Regions from separate parts of the Homo sapiens genome. Here region 2 is linked to region 1. Evidence: promoter capture Hi-C in human tissues and cell types (Jung and others, 2019). All regions are on one chromosome and are shown on one strand. The core of a region is centred on a gene start or on the middle of the fragment in contact, and the rest is flanking DNA. Distances in the headings are between cores, read along the strand shown.

The links. Contacts are between HindIII fragments. The study calls those that stand out against the background at their distance.
Region 2: a fragment that was not itself captured here is called in contact with the fragment with the promoter of XPO4 in region 1 in 1 of the 25 tissues and cell types used here (lymphoblastoid cells).

What each region holds. Positions count from the first base shown.
Region 1 is chr13:20,901,167-20,904,998 of GRCh38, forward strand. XPO4 (exportin 4) reads right to left here and starts at 1,580. Exons shown (of 23, transcript NM_022459.5): 1 at 1,504-1,580. The coding sequence starts at 1,572. RefSeq lists an enhancer at 1,343-1,392 and a silencer at 1,603-1,982. The HindIII fragment of the contact is 40,685 bases long and covers 1-3,832 here.
Region 2 is chr13:21,319,750-21,323,299 of GRCh38, forward strand. All of the region lies in intron 2 of LINC00539 (long intergenic non-protein coding RNA 539), which reads right to left. It also overlaps the pseudogene MIPEPP3 and the pseudogene GRK6P1. Among named protein-coding and RNA genes, the nearest start is that of LINC00539, 23 kb to the right of the region's middle. The HindIII fragment of the contact is 7,902 bases long and covers 1-3,550 here.

The sequences.
Region 1 (3,832 bases), core at 330-2,829:
ATGTAAAGCATCAAGCCCAATATCTAGCACTCAATAAACGGTACTTACTACTATTCTTCTCACCTACTCCTTATAGGGGATAAAAGCAGCTTTGCCAGGGAAGAGGGAAGATATTGGAAAACACAAATACTAGTTTATATTAAGCCAGTGACGAAGGACACTGATTTTACCTGATCAGTGTAAGAACTACAGCCGTGTTTTGGGTGGCATACTCCTTCCAGAATCCAATGAAAACGGAGCCCCTAGCTCCTAGGAAAATTTCAGGAATTTTACAAAACGCTCTATGTCAGGGATTTTTAAGAATCTTTTATTAAGGGGAATACTAGCTAGTTACTTCTGCTTAATTTGCAAAAGTGTGAAAACCTTCACTAGTCTGTTTTGTGACAAAACGTACATTAAGTTAATATTCATAATGAAGCAAGTAAATCCTGCTTTTATTAGACTTCTCGATTTCTAAAGAAACAAAAATATCTGGTGTAAAATATTAGAACTACAAACTACGCTAGAATTAGTTCGAATATTCTCAAATGTGATGCTCAAACACCCTAACACCAAACCAAAAGGAAAAAAGTCCAAAAAGGTAACAAAGCTGGCTGTATCCAATTCTTAGAAAGTCTGAATCAATCCAGGTATCAAATGAACCTCTAACTTCCCAAAACATCTACAAACACCGAAGTCATAATTTGCAAAAACAAAGCTGAGCCAGCAAATAGAAACACTGTTTACTAACTGAACGTAGTTTATCCTTACTTCTCCTCCTTGCATGTAATACTTTTATCCTTTGACTCGGCCTTCTCAAATTCCCTTAGTAAACAATCTCATCAAACTGCTTATTGTAGTGTAAGCATGAAGTCAAAGAGTAGCATAGACTCAGTTCTCCAAATCGCGGGAGCTTTAAGGAGCTTAGCACTAGACCAAGTTTTGCCCCAATGACCTTGGTCTCAACGATTCCCCTCCCTCCCTCCAGCCGGCCCGGCCCTTCCACGTGCTGCCGGCTGCAATTACTCCAGAGGTGGCTGCATGTCAGGGAAGCGCTAGAGGATGCGAATGCACAGGAAACAAGGGTTGCTAACAGCACCCAGGCTGTGCCATCCAATCCCTCCCGACACCAACTCCCCAAGAGCGCTCACACAGCCCTACAAATTTCCCCTACCGAAGCCCTGCGGGGATAACCCCAACTCCTTCCCGGCGCCTTGCTCTGCGACCCAGTCTGTGGGGCAGGGTGTAAGGTGAAGAAATTCTCTTTGCTACACCACTATATTCCCACGCCCGACTGGGGTGCTGGGCAGCCAGGGGAAGGGGACAGCTCCTGGAAGGAGGGGACGACGGCAGGAGGAAAGTAGGCTGAAGAATCCTGCGCCACGCCACCGCCACCTCCTCCTCCACTTCCAGGCTCCCTGCAGGCCCTTGCCAGTCGCCAGCCCAGCGAGCAGCAAGGCCTGGAGTGGCAGGGCCGACCGGGGGCCCGCGAATCCCGGGGTCTGAGGGGCGCGGCGTCCTCACCATCAGAACTTTAGCCGCGTTCTCCAGCTGAGCGATCACTTCTGGGGGCCCCAGCGCCGCCGCCATCATGGTCTCTCTTCAATGACGCGCCATGCGCTGCATTCTGGGAGCGGGCGCCGCGGCCGGCCAATCGCCGCCGCGACCCCGGAGCCTCACGCGCTCCCAGGGCCGTCGCAGCCGCTGTCGACACCGGCGTCGCGGCCTCGGCGGGTCTGGCCGGGCTGCCGGGTTCCGGGTGGCTGGGAGGGGACTAGTGTGAGCCCGGCCGCCGCGCTGGGGCGGGGGCGGCCGCAGCCGGCACCGGGCGAGGCCGAGGCGGTCTGCCCAGACTGCTGCAGCCGCGCGCCCCGCTAAGCTCCCAGCCCCGCGCATGCGTGGTGTCCGGCGCCCCGGCCTCGCGGTGCCCCCGGCCCTCTCCCCACTACCCTAGTACAGCCCGCCCGGGGACCCGCAGATCCACGACGCCAGTTCGCTCCCTCCGTTCTCAGCCCTGCACACCGCCTCCCCTGGCTCCTCCTTGCCCTTCCACGCTCCAGCGCCGTGCAGGATTTCCTAAACTTGGAATCGCTCTTCCCGCTTTCCCCTCCTCAGAGCGCACCTCCTTTCAAAGTATCTCTGTCTCCTGCTTCTCTGTTCCTTCTTGCCATGGGAGAACATTCCAGGATAGAACGCTTCGTTTTCTTTCTTTCTTTTTTTTTTTTTTTGGAGACAGGGTCTCACTCTATCGCCCAGGATGGAGTGCAATGGCCCTATTTCGGCTCACTGCAACCTCCGTCTCCCGGGTTCAAGCGATTCCCCTGCCTCAGCCTCCTGAGTATCTGGGATTACAGGCGCCCGCCACCACGCCCGGCTAATTTTTGTACTTTTAGTAGAGACGAAGTTTCACCATGTTGGCCAGGCTGGTCTCGAACTCCTGACCTCAGGTGATCCGCCCGCCTCGGTCTCCCAAAGTTCTGGGATTACAGGCGTGAGCCACCGCCCCCGGCCGAACGCTTCGTTTTCATAATGGAGGGCTTTGGCCTTCTGCAGGACAATCATCCAAATGTATCTGGGCAGCGGGTCGCTAGGAGACCCTAGGAGGAAAACCCGTCTTTGGCTCTTGCCGTTTTCACTCTTTAAGGGCTGGCTCACATAGGAGAGGGAGAAAGCAGGGACAGGAAAGCCTGACCTTGACTACCTGGCTTCTCAAATGCAGTAAGATGAGCTTTGTCGGCCAGGCGCTGTGGCTCATGCCTGTAATCCCAGCACTTTGGGAGGCCAAGGCAGGCCTCATTTTAGCTCAGGAGTTCGAGACCAGCCTGGGCAACATCGTGAGACCCTGTCTCTACCAAAAAAAAAAAAAAAAAAAGCCCGGTGTGGTGTCTTGCGCCTGTGGTCCGAGCTTCTCGGGAGGCTGAAGCGGAAGGATTGCCCAGGAGGTCGAGAGTGCAGTGGGGCGAGATCACACCACGGCACTCCAGCCTGGGTGAGAGGCTGATCCTGTCTCAGGAAAAAAAAAAAAAAGGACAAAAATCAGCATTGTCGTGTTTGTGGAATCCGTGTTGAAAGGCATATTAGAGTATCAAGTAATTAACCTTCCCTCCGGTGCTCCAGTTGCCTCTAGGACATTCCACGCAAGTGGTCCTGACAGCTGTTTCAGTATTCAAACCAGTGCTGTTAGGTTGTTCGGATCAGGGGTTTGTTTCGTTTTGAGCTGACATCTACGGTCTACATTCCTATAACTTCTTTTTGGTGCTTATTCAGCCTTCTGAAACAACACAGACAGTCAAATTCGTTTCAGTATTTTTAAGTTTATTTTTTGTTGAAATCTTCCTGTTTCTTATTCCTAGTTATAAGAAAGCCATACTGTTGAGGTTTTATGTCACTGCAACAGAATGTCTGTGTGTGTGTGTGTGTGTGTGTGTGTGTGTGTGTGTGTGTGTGTGTGTGTTATGGAGTCTCTCTCTGTCACCCAGGCTGGAGTGCCATGGTGCCATCTCAGCTCACTGCAACCTCTGCCTCCTGGGTTCAAACGATTCTCGTGCTTCAGCCTCCAGAGTAGCTGGGATTACAGGTGTGCACCACTACACCTGGCTAATTTTTGTATTTTTAGCAGAGACGGGGTTTCACCATGTTAGCCAGGCTGGTCTTGAACTCCTGACCTTAGGCGATCCGCTGCCTCAGCCTCCCAAAATGCTGGGATTACAGGCATGAGCCACTGTGCCCGGCCACACGGAACTGCATTATTAGCTCCGTTGGAAAATATGTTGTTTCTTGTACTTGAAGTCTCTGCAACTTGAAGTAGAGAAAATGAATTAACAAGGTTTGTATTGCTTGAGAAACTAAGTAA
Region 2 (3,550 bases), core at 121-2,620, 420 kb after region 1:
GGAGGTGTGCGCCTGCCAGGTGCGGGCCACAGGCAAGATGTACGCCTTCAAGAAGCTAGAAAAAAAGCGGATCAAGAAGCAGAAAGGGGAGGCCATGGCGCTGAACGAGAAGCAGATCCTGGAGAGAGTGAACAGTAGGTTTATAGTGAGCTTGGCCTACACCTGTGAGACCAAGGAGGCGCTGTGCCTGGTGCTGACGCTGATGAACGGGGGCGACCTCAATTTCCACATCTGCCACATGGGCCGGGCTGGCTTCCCCGAAGCGCAGGCCGTCTTCTACGTCCCGAGATCTGCTTGCGGTCTGGAGGACCTGCACCGGGAGCGCATAGTGTACAGGGACCTGAAGCCAGGAACATCTTGCTGGATGACCACGGCCACATCCTCGTCTCCGACCTGGGACTGGCTGTGCACGTGCCCGAGGGCCAGACCATCAAAGGCCGTGTGGGCACCGTGAGCTACATGGCTCCAGAGGTGGTGAAGAATGAACCGTACACTTTCAGCTCTGACTGTTGGGCGCTAGGCTGCCTCCCGCAGGAGATGATTGCAGGCCAGTCGCTCTTCCAGCAGAGGAAGAAGATGATCAAGCGGGAGGAGGTGGAGCGGCTGGTGAAGGAGGACCCCGAGGAGTATTCCGAGCGCTTTTCCCCGCAGGCCTGCTCACAGCTCCTCTGCAAGGACCCCGCTGAACGCCTGGGGTGTCGTGGGGGCAGTGCCCGCGAAGTGAAGGAGCACCCCCTGTTGAAGAAGCTGAACTTCAAGCGGGTGGGAGCCGGCATGCTGGAGCCGCCCTTCAAGCCTGACCCTCGGGCCATTTACTGCAAGGATATTCTGGACATTAAACAGTTCTCTAGGGTCAAGGGTGTGGAGCTGGAGGCTACCGACCAAGACTTCTACCAGAAGTTTGCCACAGGCAGTGTGCCCATCCCCTGGCAGAAGGGGATGGTGGAGACTGAGTGCTTCCAGGAGCTGAATGTCTTTGGGCTGGATGGCTCAGTTCCCCCAGACCTGGACTGGAAGGGCCAGCCACCTGCAAGGGACTGCTGCAGAGACTCTTCAGTCGCCAAAGGATTGCTGTGGAAACTGCGGGGACAGCGAGGAAGAGCTCCCTACCCGCCTCTAGCCCCCAGCCAGAGGCCCCCACGGGCAGTGGGCGGTAGTAGCTACTCCGAGTGCCTTTTACAGTTTTGCACAGTGGACTTCCCCATTGTCCACTCAAGTTGTGGCCTGGGGAACACAGACGGAACTGTCCCCAGTGTCCTCTGCCCCCTCAGCCCCTGGCCTGCCTGAGTTTGGCAGGGCCTGGGCCATCCCTGGGACAAAGGTGCGTCCCTTCAGCTCTTCTCCGTGGAGCTCGGGGCTTTCTGTATTTATGTATTTGTACCAATGTATATAGTGACCAGGGCATTCTTAGTTCCTGCCACAGACCTGGCGCCCCCTCCTTGGCTCCTGGGGGCAGCCAGCCCTGGCTGGGAGAGCGGGAGCTGGCAGAGGAGCCACTGCCAAACTTAAGGCTCCTCCGACCCAGCTTGGATGGCTGAGGATCACACCCCTGAGCCTTCAGCACGGTGCTGACCACCCCTAGCCTCTGAGTAAGACTTGTGCCTGCCCCTGCTGCCCTGGACTCAGGCTTCTGCCCTCTGGGGACTAAAGCTGTCCCTTCTCAGTACTTGTCAGAGCTGGATCTGGGGCCTGTATATCCCCTAGGCCTGTGCCAAAGTGGCCAGAGATTGGGCCGGCTGTGAGACCCATCAGCCCACTGCCCCGGCCGGCCCAGATAGGTCTGCCTCTACCTTCCAGCTCCCAGGGCCTGGTCCCTGATGCTTTCAGGGACGTTTCAGAAACGCCCGAGCCCAGCCCCTAGGAGGGGGTGGGGCATCCCTGGCCAACCCTCAAACATTCCCAACTCCTCTCATAACACTAGACACATGTGCCCAGCAAAAAAAAAAAGGACAAATGCTTCGTGATTTCACTTATATGAGGCACCTAAAGTAGTGAAATTCATAGAGACAGAAAGTAGAATGTTGGTTGTCGGGAGCTGGGGGCAGTGGGGAATAGGGAGATATTGTTTAATGAGGGCAGAGTTTCAGTTGGGGAAGATAAAAATGTTCTGAAGATGGATGGTGTGGATGGTGGTGATGGCTGTGCCATACATAATGTGAAAGTACTTAATGTTCTTGAACTGTGCACTTAAAATGGTTAAATGGTAAATTTTATGTTATGTATATTTTGCTGCAAAAACCCACTTATACAATATAAGGTGACATTATTCCTGATATTTTCTTACCTCTCCCCCTCATACACCCACCCCTACTGCTGTGCATATTCCAGATTTTGATAAACACTTGCTAAACCAATGCTGTCCTCACAGAACATACCCTCCTCTCCTCTTCCTCCCCTGCCCATCTGCATAGACGTGTAGTTGGCCAGCTTACCTGAATAGATCTTTTAAATCAAACCAGTCTAAATATTTGTAATGTGACAAAACATAAAAAGGGATGGAGAAAGCGAGGGAGAGACGGGTGTGCCTCATGCATTCATGGATTTGTATTTATACTCCAATGATCTTGTTATTTTTAAAGTCTGCTAAAGCTGGTTCCACCTGCAGGTTTCTTTTGGTGTCCTAAATCTGTGTGTGCATTCTCCACATGCTTGGAGTCAGCGTACATGAGCTGTTTGTCCCCCAGCTGGCTTTTTGCAGTGGAAGAGGCGCAAACAGAATCCGCAGCACGTAGGACAGGGAGCCTGAAATCCCACGCCGCACAGCACTCAGTGTGTGCAGGAGCTGAGGGAAGCAATAAGACCTAATAACCTCATCCATTCTCCTAATTGCTTTCTTCTCCTCACAGAGGAGCCACATCAGCAGCTCTGGTGACCCTCAGGGAAATCTCTGCTTGTTATGAGGTTGGTGGGCCATCCTTTCATCACTGTGAAATGCTGGCAGTTTGTGTCAACAAATCGAATTTCAGTCAATCAATAGGCACCCCGCCTCTCAGCTTGGCAGAGCTGCACAGCTGGCCTTCCTTCCCTCCCATCTGCTGCCCATGCCCTGGAGCCCTGGCAGCAAGAACCACTGCTGCCCGTGGCGTGGGAGAATGCCCAGGCAGCCAGGTCAGACTGGATGTGGCAGACAGCAATTGACAAGGCTGGTTCCACCACCAGAGAGTCACAGCCCACTGGAAACACACCATGTTGTACAGGGTGGAAGCGCCAGCTTTGTGCAGATGGACTTGGGTACAGGTCTGATTCTGCCACTTTGGGCTGTATGGCCTTGAACTTCAAGGCAAGTTCTTCACCTCTTTGAACTCTACCTTCCTTAGTTATAAAGCGGGGATGCTACTGCTGCCTGCTGCAGGATTGTTAGGAAAAGTGTTATAATGCATGCAAAGTGCTTTGTCCAGTCCCTGGCACACAGTAGAGAGAGAGAGAGAGAGAGAGTGTGTGTGTGTGTATGTCACTGTGATCTGCCAAGTCTTACAAGCCAAATAGGGCAATAAATGGCAACTACTGCGGATTTTACAATCATCATTAGCATCATCATCATTATTATTGT